Linked DNA regions of Homo sapiens: region 1 is linked to region 2. Evidence: promoter capture Hi-C in 16 types of primary human blood cells and fetal thymus (Javierre and others, 2016). All regions are on one chromosome and are shown on one strand. Each heading gives the region's core, a stretch centred on a gene start or on the middle of the fragment in contact. The rest is flanking DNA. Distances are from core to core; before and after follow the strand shown.

Region 1 (3,796 bases), core at 1,214-3,713, 4.1 Mb after region 2:
TAAGAACACCAGCAACAACCATGTTTTATTCTAAGGTTGGTTAGTTGCTTGCTCCCACTAGAGCTTTTCAATGGTTTGTGAAATCACCCACAGTGCCTCTGTAGGAAGTTCCATGTTCTCTATTTTAGCCAGAATGTTAGCAAGTTCCATGAGAACAGGGACCTGGTTGTGTTCACAGTTGCACTCCAAACTCCCCAAATTATGTCTGCCATCACTGTCTGGTAGTTGGTGCTCAGTAAATATTTGTTGATGGCATTAATGAATGAATACCTCATTGCATCCTTATAGGAAGTTTCCACATCATTTGGGTCATATTTATTGAAATTCTGTGCAGTTTTCTCTCAGGACAGGAAACGAGAATTCTAAGAATAGAACCCGAAGAACTATTGAAAGGGTCAGTGGACAAAGAGGAAACTTTGCTCTGTTAGGAAATATCAGATCACTTATAGCAAGGATCTTTCCCCTAATCTCTCTCGATGGTTTGTGTCAACAGGAAAGTGGCTAGAGAAGTCAAGATGTTTCTTTATTTTTTAAGTTCTGTATTAAAATATAGCCCTTGGATGTGTTTCACATTTTGGCCACGTGGCAGAGCTATGTAACTCACCTCAATGTCTCAGAAAGATGCAAATGCAGCAACTGGCGGCCCAGCCCTAGCCGTAACACAGACTGTAAGTGGGGCTCATGGCCACTTTTTCTCCTTTTCTCTGCTGTGCTTCTCTCATTGCACTTCTCGCTAACTGTTGAGCCAAGCTATGATGTTATCTGGAGGCCTGTCTTATCCCTACCACAGAGTGGGGGGTAGGTGGGGTGTTCCAGAGTTTTCATGTGGGAGGCACTTGGCAGCAACTTTCATGTTAAAAGCTAGGCCTGAAAGCTCCAATCTTGAAGTGACATATGCCAAGCATGCTTTTCACTTTGGTTAGATGTAAATCATTTATTTATTACTTCACCAAATATTTATTAAACCTACTATGTGCCAGAATATGGGGATTTCACAATAAAAGTGGCTATTATTAATATGTTGCCTCTTAGCTCCAAATTCATCCTCATTGCCTGCCTAGTGAAACTGAATCTGAGCCCTTTAAATATTTTCCAGCTGTTAAAAAAGCTAGGTCAATAGAAGGCGCTGGAGAGACATTGCAGGAGGAAAGGGTTTGGTTTCCTGGTTCCTGGCTCTGGTTGCATACTGGGCAGGTTCCTACAGCACAGGTAGCAAGCAGCAGCACCCAGCAGCCAGCAGCTTCCTCCAGAAGCCCCTTAGGTGGCTTTGGAGCAAGTGCCTCTAATGAGTCACCTCCCTCAGCAGCTTTCCTTGGAACCCCAGAGAATGGATTTCCAACGAGTTCTGGAATGTGGATTTCTAGCAAGTTCCAGAAGGCAGAATTCTAGCAGGGCTCTCCTGCTATTCAGAAAGTTACAACTGTGCCCTCTCCAGCAAAGTCTGGATCTCAGCCAGCCCTAAGAGTGTGTCTGTGTCTTGGAGGAGCTCTTTTTGAGATGCTGTATCTCAGCCCTAGGGTTAGTAAGTAGCTGTTCCTTATATCTCTATTTCTGTATTATTTAGAGCTCTCTTTACCTCTTACCAATCTCCCTTTGATCCAATTCCCTGTTATAGGTAATAATTTTTTATATTGAACTTTCCTTGTTGAAATTACTGTTTTTCTCTCTTGATCGGATCCCGATTGATACAGTAAACAACATAAGCAAAGTGTCTTTCTTGCTGGAGCTTACATTCTGATGGGGGGAGATAGACAAACAGTTGCATAATATGAAGGAGTGACAGGAGTAGTAGAACTAGTTCAGATGGGAGTTCATAGAAGCCTTCTTGGAGGAGGTGACATTTAAGCAGAAGCCTGAATGCCTAGAAAGAGTCAGCCAAAGCAAAAATCACTGAGAAGCAAATTTCAGGTGGATTCAAAAGCCTCATTTGAGGAAGTGTTGGTGAATGTGAGCATTTTTTAAAGACTGGTACATGCTAGACACAGAGTAATATAAGATTAGGTCATGGCTACATCACTGGGTTCTGGTCACATTGAACTTCTTATGCCTAATAAAAGCTTTCATTTTCTACTCTGATTATAATAGCCATTGTGGAGGGAGAAAGGCTCGTAAGCAGGGAGTGACAAGATCATTACAAATATCAACTTGGTATAAGGTGCCCACGTTCATACTTGACCTAAGATTAAGAAAGTACCCTTTGTCATATTAAAGAATTATCAATTGTTTTTAATTGGGGGCAGCTGATAAAGAGTACAGAAGCACATATGCTGCCCTTCCCACACACATCCTTTGGTACTGCCACTACCTCACCCCCACTAATGAGTGATGGGTCCATTTTAATTTGGAAAGAGGATGCCTATGCAAGTTTGAATGTCAAGCTCTGCATTGAATATATAGCTAGAACAGCAATGATCATAGAGAATCAAGGACATGCACATCCATTTCTAGATCTGCAATTGACTTGCTCAGAAACCATCCTCCCATCTATGTTAAGATAGAGAGAACTGGACAGAAAACTCATTATTGAAAAAGATTCAGGACATCAATGCTAAAGAGAGTGACAAATTTCTTAACTTGTCTGGTTAGGTAGAGGTTTGTTGCCAGCTGCCTCAATGTTTAGTGGTGAAGACTGCCAAGCTATCTTTGTGTTGGGATGTCCCTTCTTATCTTGATGGATAAAAGGAATGTAGGTACCCGTTGCCTTTTTGTGGGGAGGGAACTTGGCTTGGGAGTGCAGTGGACAAATTTGCATAGGTACTAAGGAGGCTTCTGGGACAAAATAACTGTCCTTATTGAAACGCTACATTATTTGAATGCTTTGAGATTATCCCTAATTAAGTCTGCAGGCAAGAAGGAGCACTGAAGCTTTCTCTTCCCTCCCGGAGATTATGGTGCAGACACAGTGGTGTATGTGGGAGGGGCTATCTAGAACGCAGCTGAAGTCAACAGGAGAATGGACCAGTGACCCAAATTCACTAGCTGCAATACAGAGGCAGGAAGTATGGATCTTTCTCATTCGGAAATAACTCTTTATTGAAGATACAAATCTCCTTTTGGATTAGACATCCTGGCATTAATGGGGTGCTTCGGGATAAATAGCTGAGTGTGTGAGGAAGATAAGGCTGCATAGCACTTTTATAGGCACACCTTATGTCAACAATGGAGCTGAGGGAGACCCTGACTTCTTGCTAGTCTGAACAGTTGTCTTGAATAGTTAAAAAGAGCTGTGAACTTATTTATACTCTATAACAGAGATCATATCTAAGAAATACACTACTAAAAATGACTCCCTTACTTGAGGAACGCTCACATTGTCTTTAATTTTCTAGAATCTAGAAGGGATCTTTAACAGCTGCTTCTGTTTCATTCCCCTGCCTTTAAGCAAACAAGATATTATTATCCCCACTTTAAAGATTAATCAACTGAGGCTCAGAAATAAGTCACTTGCCCAAGGTTATATGGCTTGTAAGTACTGAAGCAGAGATCAGAACTCTTGTCTCCTACCTCCTGATTTAATACCTTGCATAAACCTGAATTCCACAAATGAGTATTCAATTAAAGTATGTAATTTGAGCACTATCCAACTCACCTGCCTGGTTTACTCCTTTTCAAGCAGATGTTTTATTGCAAAAATGGGGGCAGAGGGTGAATCAGGGAGATGACTGTGTTGCAGCTGCCACTGTGCAAAGGCTGAAACTGAGAATTACCATGGCTGCAGGAAGCATGGCTCACTCCCTTCAGCCTCCGACCTCAGAGTGTCTGAAGGCTCAGTAAGGAAGTTCCAAAGAGATGCACA
Region 2 (3,737 bases), core at 161-2,660:
GCACTCTTTGTTCCCCTTACTCCAGAGCATCTATCACCAACTCACACACTACATATATTCATTTACTCTGTCTCCCATACCAGAATGTAAATCCTTTGAGGGCAGGGATTTTATCTGTCCTGTTCGCTATATGACAATGACATAGAGTAAGGATTGAGCTCAATAATTACTGAGTACATGAATATCACAAGCTATACATCATAGGGATTAGGCCTCCCTCATCTGATTCAAGACTCAGAGGGGGTACATGAACTGCCCAGGCTCACACAGCCAGACAGCAACAGAACCAAGACCTAGGGCTCTTCACTCCTGTTACATCACACCATGGCAATGATTTTACATTCTCCAACTGATTCAAATCATATGGCAGCTAGGGATTTGGGGGCTCCATGTTTTATTTCAATTGCAGTTCAAGATTTCTTTTTATCTTTGTGGCTGAGAACCCTACAATAATTTTGGAAAGCAAAACCCATCTACCTGGAGTAAATCTTTAATATACACCTGACTACACAGGCCACAACATGGGCCGTTCCTGATTCAGAAAATTCTAGAAGGGTCCTATAGGCCCTTGAAGGTTATGATGTTTTAGCTGATCAAGTTCTGTCCTTTGCTGCCTGTGGTCGAATGGTACAGCAGCTGTCTTTTCTGATAAAGGGCACAGTTAGACTTTGGTTTAAACAGGAAGCCAAATGTTAACTCCTCAGTCTCCAGGTTAGCACACTGGGCTACCTCTGTGGTTTCCACAATTCTCTTCTTTCTTTCCAAACCCTCAGGAGCCACCCTCCATATTAACGCTGTCTCCTTCCAGGTTAAGCTGATGAAAGGAAGGGGAAAACGATTCACTTTCCAAAATTGAATCGGAGAAGTCCAGGGCCTCATAGGAGGAGGCCGCTGTGTGTCCAGATGGCCAAAGGTCTGTGAGAGCCTGGGCCGTGGTTTGCGTCCTCTCGCTAGAGGCCGTGCGCCCTCCCGCCTGGCCCCGACAAGGCGCCCCGAAACCTAGCCCCGCGCCGCTCGCTAGGCCTCCACCTGCGCGGCCCCGCAGCCGCCTGTTCAGGAGCGGCTTCCTCCCTGAGCCTGCGGTCGCCGCAGCCTCCCCGTCTTAGAGCGGGAACCCGGAGCTCGGATGCGGTCCCAGGATGGGCGCCCCGCGAGCAGGCTGGAGGGCGGGGAGAGGGCGCGGCAGCCGCGGGCCTCGGTTTCTTCATCTGCAAAGGGAAGGGTGGGGGGTCCCCAAGACCCCAGTCCACCGGCAGGGACGGCGACGCGTCCGGCCTCCGCCGCGCCCGCAACACTTGTCCCGGGCGCCCCCCGCCCTCTCCCGGACCTACTTCCCCGAGCCGCTCACGCCCATCACCAGCAGCGCGCCCGGCGCCGCCATAACCCAAGCTCGGCTCCTTCCCGTCGCCTTCCGGGCCCCGCCGGCCCCGGCCTACCCGGCGCTCGAGGGGCGGAGCCGCTCTCGCCCCGGCCGGGGCAGTGAGGGCCGTGCCCCTCTGCGCCCTCCCCGTTTTCCCGCGCCCCTTTTCCATGCTTTCCTCCTCCCTTTCCCAACCTCCCGGCCTCTCTCTCCTGCCCCTTCTTTTCCTCTCCCCTCCCCTCCCTCTTTCCTCTTCCCGGAAGTGAAGCGCGCGCCCGGCCTGGCACTCGCGTCTCCCTGGGCTGGAGGGAGCCGCCCAAAGCCCCGCCACCTGTCGTTCTACTGCCCCGGCCCCTCTTGGTTCCAGAGGATCCTCACCCTGGCAGGCCGGATCCTCATCCACCCATGGAAAGCATTCATTCATTCATTTATAAAAATGTTCTTGTAAAAAGAATAAACAGAAAATAAGACTCATAATTTCCCACACCAGGCAGCAATAAGCAGCACTTCCTAAAACGACTCCCCTTTCCCCGCGCCCCGTCGTAGATAGATGGGTATGAGTATTTTGTAAAACTGGGATCAGGCCGTACACAGCGTTTTGTAATCTGGCCTTTTGTCACAATAATAAATGGCGGCCATCTTTTGGTGTCAAACTTAGGGTTGAGTGTTGACCGTAGCAGCATATGTCTTGGCTGTATGGCTCTGCTGTTAAATCCAGCACTGGTTGGGGCTTTAAGAGGAAGGAGCACCACTTTAAAGTGTCCATTTGCTTTAAAACAATGTTAATTATGTGTCGTTTGAACTATTTGATTAAAAGCACTTCTTTTTTTTTTTGAGACGGAGTCTCGCTCTGTCGCCCAGGTGGGACTGCGGACTGCAGTGGCGCAATCTCGGCTCACTGCAAGCTCCGCTTCCCGGGTTCACGCCATTCTCCTGCCTCAGCCTCCCGAGTAGCTGGGACTACAGGCGCCCGCCACCGCGCCCGGCTAATTTTTTTTGTATTTTTAGTAGAGACGGGGTTTCACCTTGTTAGCCAGGATGGTCTCGATCTCCTGACCTCATGATCCACCCGCCTCGGCCTCCCAAAGTGATTAAAAGCACTTCTAACCGCATTTGGCATCACCTCCTTTGGTCTTTTGTTAACCAAGGTAGGTATTACTCTGTGTCCTAGAAAACAATAAAAGTGACATAAAAGCATTTATCTAATGAATAGTTCAATTACCCCTGCACTGCCTTTGTTTTTCATATACTTAGCCCGAGTAGGTGAGATTTCAATCTGGATGGGGGCTGTACAGGTGAAGAAATTGAGGCTTGGAGAGAGGTCTTACAATTCAGTTATGGTCAATACACATTTCTTGAACATCTACCATGTGCTGGTTAATATCATATTAATATTCATTTAAAAGATTACCCTCTAGGCATTCTCAAGCTTGATAAGAGGAATAGATGTGTATGCAAATACTCTTAACTCGTGCCCTGCTTCGCTAGCTCAGTATGAAAAAAAAAAGCTCATATTTCTTTCAATGTTCAAATCAGAATGATTAGCAGAAAATCTGATTCTTCTCCTTGGATTTCTTTCCCCAGACATGTCCAAGGATCTTAAACTTGCTGTGCTGCTCAGGGTGGTGGCAGGAAACAGCATGCTCAAATTGGGGCAGGTGAACAGGATTTAACAAAGGGACTATTAGCACAGGTGTGGGTAGGGTCAGAAAAAGCAACTAGGGGCAGAGTCCACATCTGAGTAACCGAGAAGTGTTTTCACTCTTAAATAGAAAGGGGCTGATGAGAGGGAGCCTTTATATGGGAAGGGAAGAGAATGGAAGGAGAGAGACAGAGAGAATAGACCATATAGAAAGAAGTGTCTGACAGGACTGTAGCCTTAGGAAGAGAGAGATAGACATTCCTTGTTGACCCAGCAGAAAAATAATCAGGAGAATAAATAACCTCCCCTCCCCTCCTCTTGCCCTGTGATCTCCTGCTCGTGGCCAAACCCCACCAGCCAAACCCAATTGGAAGGTGGAGAGCTAGGGAGTCCGGCGGTGCCCATGCATGCCAATTTCCTGGGCTCAGAGCAGGGAAGAGAAGGGTGGAGATTGTATCTGGAGGTACCAATGAAAGATACCCAGCATGCCAGTGTCAGTGAAACTCTGTGCCTGCTTCCAGGACAGCGGAACTTCAAAGGTGCCCCTAAGAGCTGAATTCCACGTTTTTTTTTTTGCTTTCCAAAGAGTGCCACCTGCTGGTCCTGGTTGTCTCGGTGCTTCCCAGCTGTTACTATGGGGCAACCCAGATGCTGAATATTGGTCTGGTTTTAGGTCCTGTCTACTGCAAGAACTGTTGTACTGAGGCACATGGTACTCTGGAAACCCCGAGTCCC

The links. Contacts are between HindIII fragments. The CHiCAGO score rates a contact against its expected background, and 5 or more counts as called.
Region 1: a contact is called between a fragment that was not itself captured here and the fragment with the promoter of IDNK in region 2, in 1 of 17 cell types (fetal thymus). The highest score is 6.4, in fetal thymus.

What each region holds. Positions count from the first base shown.
Region 1 is chr9:79,565,354-79,569,149 of GRCh38, reverse strand. It overlaps LNCARSR (lncRNA regulator of Akt signaling associated with HCC and RCC), which reads left to right and starts at 1,198. Exons shown (of 3, transcript NR_184113.1): 1 at 1,198-1,518. The HindIII fragment of the contact is 808 bases long and covers 2,060-2,867 here.
Region 2 is chr9:83,620,816-83,624,552 of GRCh38, reverse strand. It overlaps IDNK (IDNK gluconokinase), which reads right to left and starts at 1,410. Exons shown (of 5, transcript NM_001001551.4): 1 at 1,332-1,410. The coding sequence starts at 1,381. RefSeq lists enhancers at 806-855, 876-1,005 and a silencer at 1,186-1,715. The HindIII fragment of the contact is 10,566 bases long and covers 1-2,791 here.